Regions from separate parts of the Homo sapiens genome. Here region 2 is linked to region 1. Evidence: promoter capture Hi-C in human tissues and cell types (Jung and others, 2019). All regions are on one chromosome and are shown on one strand. The core of a region is centred on a gene start or on the middle of the fragment in contact, and the rest is flanking DNA. Distances in the headings are between cores, read along the strand shown.

The links. Contacts are between HindIII fragments. The study calls those that stand out against the background at their distance.
Region 2: a fragment that was not itself captured here is called in contact with the fragment with the promoter of EMB in region 1 in 1 of the 25 tissues and cell types used here (H1 embryonic stem cells).

The regions. Positions count from the first base shown.
Region 1 is chr5:50,439,784-50,443,797 of GRCh38, reverse strand. It overlaps EMB (embigin), which reads left to right and starts at 2,510. Exons shown (of 9, transcript NM_198449.3): 1 at 2,510-2,758. The coding sequence starts at 2,647. RefSeq lists silencers at 2,567-2,696, 2,777-2,966. The HindIII fragment of the contact is 6,914 bases long and covers 1-3,533 here.
Region 2 is chr5:50,573,686-50,577,344 of GRCh38, reverse strand. No RefSeq gene overlaps it. Among named protein-coding and RNA genes, the nearest start is that of PARP8, 91 kb to the left of the region's middle. The HindIII fragment of the contact is 3,381 bases long and covers 1-3,095 here.

The DNA.
Region 1 (4,014 bases), core at 1,261-3,760:
AGTTAAAGGATCATTTTAAATGATTCTACTGCAAACATTTTTCAAAAGATAAACATGACCCATTTCTCCAATTTGTGTCATGTAATAGTAATAATAATGATATTTAAATACTCCCACTGATATGTCCTTTACAAAGATATATTATATGTCTTATTTAATCAAAAAACCTTAAAAGAGTCCCTGTACCTAATTTTATTCCAGGACTCAAACTGTGTCAGCATGTCATTCAGTGCAAATCAGACATTTAGATGCATAGGCTATGCTGTCAGTAGTTCTGAACTTTCATAGACATTTCCAATTAGCTCGGAGAGACAACTGGATATTGTGTTTAAGCACTGTGTTTAGGAAAACAGGCACTGGATGGACCAATGCCAAATTTCCTGCTCTGCTGCTTAACTAAGTATGTGTAATTACTTGGGCAATTACTTAAGCAATTACTTGGGCAATTACTTAAGCCAATCCCCAATTTCTTCGTCTTGAGCCCAGAAGGTCAAGGCTGCAGTGAGCCGTGAATGTGCCTCTGCCCTCCAGCCTGAGCGACAGAGTGAGAATTCCCCAGGAGTGCAGAGGTTCTCAGAACTGCAATACTCTGAGATGAATTTTGAAAGGTGAATCAGGGATAGAAAAAGTTATATAGGGAAGGCAGTCAATAAGCTTGTTTTAAAGGATATGGAGCATTTGAAAAAGTGGAATGTACATAAGGCTGGAAATATCAAATATCTAAATATAGAACAGGAACAGTGATGAAAAGACTTTCAAAATGCTTAGCAAAATGAGAATTATATTTCTTTCTCAACTCTTTTGTTCCAACAGCAAAAGCAACAGTGGGGATCAGCATCAACTTGGGTAAGTAAGTTTTTCTGGTCATAAATAGGCTGATTCAACTGAAAAAAATGTTTCTTTAAGAAGGGTGAATTTGTGTCTAAGGATTTTATGAGACTAACTGGGAAAAGTCAGTCAGAGTTTAGTTTGAGGTGAGAAGTGCTTACTGTTGACACTCTACCTAATTATAGGGAAATGTGTGCAGTTAGTCCTGAGACCAGATGCAGGGTTGAAAGAAAGAGGTGTGATGTAGCAGCCATTGATTAGGCAATTTGGGTTTAGCAAGCCCAGTCAATGCCCTCAGAGGGTCAACAGTGTATAAGATTTAGTCCTTGAAGGCATCTTTTAAAGTTTCATTCAGAAGATTTTAATAATTTTGACCATAATTTTCTGAGAAGAGGCTTTTCTGAGATTTGTCATTCACAGATAAACAGTTGTCTAATTTGTGTGTGTGTGTGTGTACATGTGTGCATGCGTGCATTTGTGCATGTGTGCCTATCTAGCCTCTTTTGAACACAATGGTAGATTGGCACCTGGTAGATAATATTGTTGAATGAATTGTATTATTCATATTATCTCACTGCCAATTTGAAGAATCTACATTCTGTTTCCAAAGTTTTGTGCATATAATACTAAACCAGAAACAGACGTGTTTTAGTAATACGTACCAATTACAAATTAACCATTCCTGCCTGGAATAAACACAGGTTTTGTTAAATAGCTCAATTTTCAAAATTTGTCTCATGTTATTTCCAATCCTTTTTTTTTTAACGCCGATATATTTTGAATTTACGAATGTGAAAGCTGAACTTCAAAAAAATAAAGGGAGAGGAAACAAAGCTCGTGAAAAATTTTAAAAATATCTTTTAATGCGTTATAACATCCTGGAGAGAAATCAAATCAATGTGTTTCAATGTTACAATATAGATTTCTCCTCCCCTCCCGGATAAAGCACTAATTTATTTAATTTGGTTCAGAGCACTGAATATTCCAAGCTACAGCCTTGTGGGTAAGAGCATTATCTTAAAGAGTGTTCGGATTTAACAAAGGTCAATGTCTTGTGCAGTTTACATAGTATCTACTCTCAGTAGCTTTTGCTTCTTGAGCTCTAGGTGGCTCCTCAGAAGCTGTTAGGCTTAACAAACAAAAATAAAGTAAAATCAGACACGGTATGGGGCCTTGGGACTCTAAAACCTTCATCCGGAGAAAATCAGTTAAGCCTTCAGAGACTAGAAGAGAGAATGTGTGTGATTGGTAGGCAAAGCAAAGAAAGATTAACACAAGTTGTCTGGCAGCTGGATAAAACCTTACACCTGCGCAAAAATAAGCCTCCCTCGTAAGAAAGCCCAAAGATGTCCGGGGTCCGGGAGGAGAAAAGTGTTTCTCATCTGTCCCATCAAAGCAAATTAGTGAAACCTGCCTCAGGTGAAGTGCAAAGGCCAGTCTGTAGGCAGAGTTTCGACCTCTCCCCACGAGATTGGCTAGACATCACCTGCCCAAGCTCTCTCCCGACCTGCTAGAGCCGAGAGGGCGGAGGCCGGAGAGGCTGCAGCCGGGAAGTAGCACCGCCACCGCACATCCGGGAACGCCAGCAGCCGGCTGAGGGCTGCATAACTGATGGAGGGCCGGGCGCGGTAAGAGCGTCTCGGGGGAGTGGGGCAAGGCGGCCGGGCCCCTCCCATTCCGCCTTTTCTTCAGCGTCCTACCCGCGGCACTGGCTGCGAGCGCCGGGCCACCTGCGAGTGTGCGCAGGGACTCTGGACACCCGCGGCGGCGAGCTGAGGGAGCAGTCTCCACGAGGACCCAGGCGGACCCTCTGGCGCCATGCGCGCCCTCCCCGGCCTGCTGGAGGCCAGGGCGCGTACGCCCCGGCTGCTCCTCCTCCAGTGCCTTCTCGCTGCCGCGCGCCCAAGCTCGGCGGACGGCAGTGCCCCAGGTGTGATGGGTACAGGGTCCAGGGTAGGGAGGGCGGAGGGCGCGCGAGGCTCGGGTCCCCGCGGGCAGAGGGCATCGCCGGCGCGCCGGGCAAGGGTGGCGGGGAGAGGCGCGGGGATGCTGGTAAGGGCGGGTGGGAGAGTCGGCGGCGGCCTCCCATTAGCTACGTTTGTGTCACCTAAGCTGAACCCTGAAACTGCTGCGGCTCGCGTTCCTGCGCTCTTTGGGGCGAGTCTTGAACGAACAGCGCCCCGCGAGTCGGGCGCGTAGGTAACAGGGCAGAGTCTGGTTTTTCCTAGGAAGAAGGCAGTGGGGTGTGTGGGTGGTTGCAGGGACCAGCTAGCGACTTGGCTTGGGCAAATATGGCATGAATTTTGAAAGCCACATTTCCCCAAGGCCTACTCCCTTTTCTTGATTCGAGAGTAAGGCTCGAGTATCACCTCCTTCCCTCCTCTTGGCAGGTGGGTTGGCTTTGAGGATTTTTTTTTTTTTTTTTTTTTTTTTTTTGAGACGGAGTTTTACTCTTGTTGCCCAGGCTGGAGTGCAATGGCGTGATCTCGGCTCACCGCAACCTCCTCCTCCCGGGTTCAAGCGATTCTCCTCTGTCAGCCTCCAGAGTAGCTGGGATTACAGGCATGCGCCACCACGCCGGGCTAATTTTATATTTTTAGTAGAGACTGGGCTTCTCCACATTGGTCAGTCTGGTCTCGAACTCCCAACCTGAGGTGATCCGCCCGCTTCGGCCTCCCAAAGTGCTGGGATTACAGGCGTGAGCCACCTCACCTTGCCGAGGATGTTTTTTTAGAGCTGAGTAGGGGAAAAAACATCATAACCAACTAGCCAACCAAAGATCCACAACTTACAGGATAACGTGTGTGTATCTTCATTTTACACCGTGGTCTTTGAAAACAAAATGTGTGTGTGCATGTGTGTGTGTGTATGTGTGAGATTTTTGCTTGTTGTTTTATTGTTTAAGACACTTTGACAGAGGGATTACGTGCAAAACATTAACAAAGCCAACACGAAAGTTGCCATTCTACCTTCACCTGTTTATAATTACTTTTCATATTGAAAGGATTCCATCCAACCTATTGCAAGTTTCTGTGTCATAAATGTTACCAGCCAGTAAGGGTAATAAAAGACCACCTCTCAAGCTGGTAAATATTGGCCACCAGTAACTAAAATTGGGACATTATTCTGCAAAAAGTTTTCAAACTCTCATGGGAATTTATTTTCATGGGCTTGTAAGATGTGGAA
Region 2 (3,659 bases), core at 156-2,655, 130 kb before region 1:
CAAACTCTCCAGTTTCTTTTTCTTCTATATTTTCTATTTGATATCTGTCAAAGCTTAACCAGCCAAAGACTACCCAGCTCAAACCTATAGTTTGACAAAATCAGATTTATTGATTTGCAGGAAAGGGAGCACATTCCAGAGAACCTCAAATGTGCACTCTACAAGATTTGGGTTCCTGCTGGAGGGTTATGAGCAAGCTCTAAGGGAATGGAGAGCATCTCTGGGTTGGATAATCTTTCTGTTGCAAGATTAGGAGAAGTGAGAATTAGCTAGGAACTGAGTACTGTCTTGAGATGAGGGCAGTTTAGCAACTGGATATCCCCAATAACAGATGTGACAAAGCAGGTCTGGGGGTGTCATGGGTAACAAAGCAGTGGTCACTCAAGGAGAGAATCATGATGGCATTTTATAGCTGCTACAAGACCTTGGAAAAAACATTTGCTGTTAACTTTGCAGCTGCCTTTATCCATCTGTCCTCCCTGCCTGATTAACAGCAGGGCTGCCTTTTTCTTTTCAGTCCTTCAGTCACAGAGAGGATTTTACTCGTTCACTTTAATAGAACCAACTTGACTTTATGATTCTCCTATTTGTTAGAGCTTCAGAAGACAGCCATGTCATTTGGTAACCAATCTTATTTTGACAATCCAACAGAAAAAATAGTGTGATTTTTGCACTTGTTATTCAAAATTAAGCTATGAAGACATAGATTAATGACTAGGAAAACTCAGTGTAAGACTGTCTAGAGTTTGGTTTCTAGTTTCAATATAAAGGAGAGAGAGAAATTAAAACCCTGGAGACAAGTTCTAACAGTGGATCAGCTATGTGGCCAGGGCACATGTACATGAAGTATATGAATATGTTTATGTATATTACATATTCATACCAGAATATGTAATATCTTGCATATTCTGCTGTGTAAGAAACAAATGATAAGATTGTGAATGAACATCTCTGAGGGGCTGCTGAAACTGGAACTGGGACAATGCAGAATTGGCACATGAAAGTGTTTACATAACTATTAGATAAAGTCAACATAAAATTCCTAGGTAAGCAAAAAAGCATCTGCCCAAGAAAAGAGCATAGAGAATAATCAAAACAATCTCTAAATGCACATACACTAAAATTAAAGGGTAGAAAACTGAGATGTGGATGAGTGAATTCATTATATAGACAAAGAATCTTATTAAACATTAAGGGAAAGAACTAGAATTACCTTCTGGGAAATGCAGGTGCTCTGGGATACCAACATTTTGAAAGCATAGCTATGTCCACATTTTAGTAGACAAACGATCTTGCAAAGTGAACTACATTATAGAAAAGAGAATAGAAAAGGCAGTAAAGAGAACACAGTGACAATCTGAGTGTGTCATCTTTATAATGTTATGTATTATTTGTGGACATCCTGTTGGTTTGTGGGAGAGAAAAAATATAACAGTTTAATCAGTGATGAAACATGTACAGTCATCTTACGTATGCTTTTATTAGACATTATCAACATTCGTGATTTCTATTTGTAGCATACAGGGAGATTTGTATTTCTCATTGTGAAATATTCTGTTGTAAGAGGGAAAGAAAGAGAGTAGGATAAAGAAAAATGTTCTAGGATTGACTGTTACTGAAATAGTTAAAAAACCTAACTAAGCCCCTGGTGCAATGGTAACATAAGGAATTTGCCTTTTTATGTTTGGATAAACTCAATTTTAAAATAGTGTTTAAAAATAACATTGTTAGCTAATTTGTGATTTATATGCATATAGATAGTATATCGAGTCTAAGAAAACACAAAGCTGAAATATTCTGGTTTAATTCACCTACTCACACTTTTTTTCTTTAACATTAAATGAATATAATTAAAATCAGTGACTTACAGAAAAGTGTGTTAAGACTTATAAGAGGCTGGGTGTTGTGGTGCACACCTATAATCCCAGTACTCTGGGAGGCTGAGGTGGGTGGATCACTTGAGGTCAGGAGTTTGAGACCAGACTGGCCAACATGGCGAAACTTCGTATCTACTAAAAATACAAAAATTCACTGGGCATGGTGGCAGGCACCTATAATTCCAGCGACTCAAGAGACTGAAGCAGGGGAATCACTTGAACCTGGGAGGTGGAGGTTGCAGTGAGCAGAGATCATGCCACTGTACTCCAGCCTGGGTGACAGAGTGAGACTCTGTCACACACACACACACACACACACACACACACACAACTTATAAAGGAAAATATTTTTTAAATACTTGAAATAATTATACTATGAAGAAATATGATTTACTTGTCATAAAGAGCAAATGTTTACACTAAGAAGAGAAAAAATTTCGCTAAACTTTTGTGACATGAACAGACAAACCTGAATTTTTAAAAGATATTCACAAATAAAATATAAGCTAGTTGATTTAGAAAAGGTGACTGCCAAGAATTAGATATGAGCTTTGGCATGTGAGATTGTTGATAAAATTACATTCAATTCATGAAAATGGAAATTTCATATCACTCAGATTAGTAGATAATTTGTAAGTATTCTTTGAATGCTAACTGCATACACAATAATGTGCAAGTTTACCTTTCAGAAGGAAAAAATTTATTGGTTATTTATAATGATACATCCAAAGGTAATCATAAAAATAAAATAAAATAGCATTGACTAATTTTATAAACACTGAAGGAAAACAAAATAGAAGAGTAACCATGGCAAGAGCTAAATGGAACACAATTCTTCCTGATGGCTTAAAACACTTTCTTTTGTGTACTTTCATTTTCTTATTTGCAATGGATTCCTTAGGTATTCATAAAACGTGTTTACAACCTTCCTGGTTTGATATGAGGTTAACTCCTTTATCATGGAATTTTAATATTAATGATAGTTTTGGAAAATACTTCTCTGAAAAGTTATTTTGAGAAGAAAGACTTTCTATGTATAAATATCTAAAACCAGCAATTATAGTGGATCTCAGGGGAAGTTTGAGATCTTTTTCTTCAGAGTAGCTAAAGAGCCTTTCAGCAGCATATCCAAAGAGCCTTTCAGCAGCATGTCTCTGGGGACTGCATTGAGGAGCTGAAATTTCCCTGGAGAATATAATAAGAATAAAGACAAAATTTTTATTTTGGCTTCGGAAGTGACAATACTTCCTTCTGGAGTTTAGAGAATTCAACTTGAATTTAAAGTCGGCCATTTCTTCCCTAACAACGCTTGGATTGCTAAAGGGAGAACAAGTAGAAAGAATACTGAGACATCATAAATATAGCAAAATAAAACAACAACATTTTTTTCTCTCCCACCACCAAATTTTCATTATCATCACAAATATTTAGTATGTTTTTTCTTTTTAAGAAAATCTTTTTTCTTTTTTTTTTTTTTTGGTTTATATCATTAAATATACTGAGTTTTTTTTCATTTTTACTTTCCATGCTCCATTCTATCACAAAAGTTGGCAACAAATAGAACTGGGCTGAATCCATCATTTATAAATAATGGTAGTGATAAAAATAATTTTCGTTTGAATAGTTCTTTACAGTTTTTGAAGTACTTAGCTCTATCTTGTCTCATTTCACAAAATCCTTTGAGGTATGTACGACACTTGATCCAATATCCTTTTGACCTATGAGGAGATCAAGGCACAGATTTGTTGGTGACAAGTTAAAAATCAAGATGATTTTTACTCA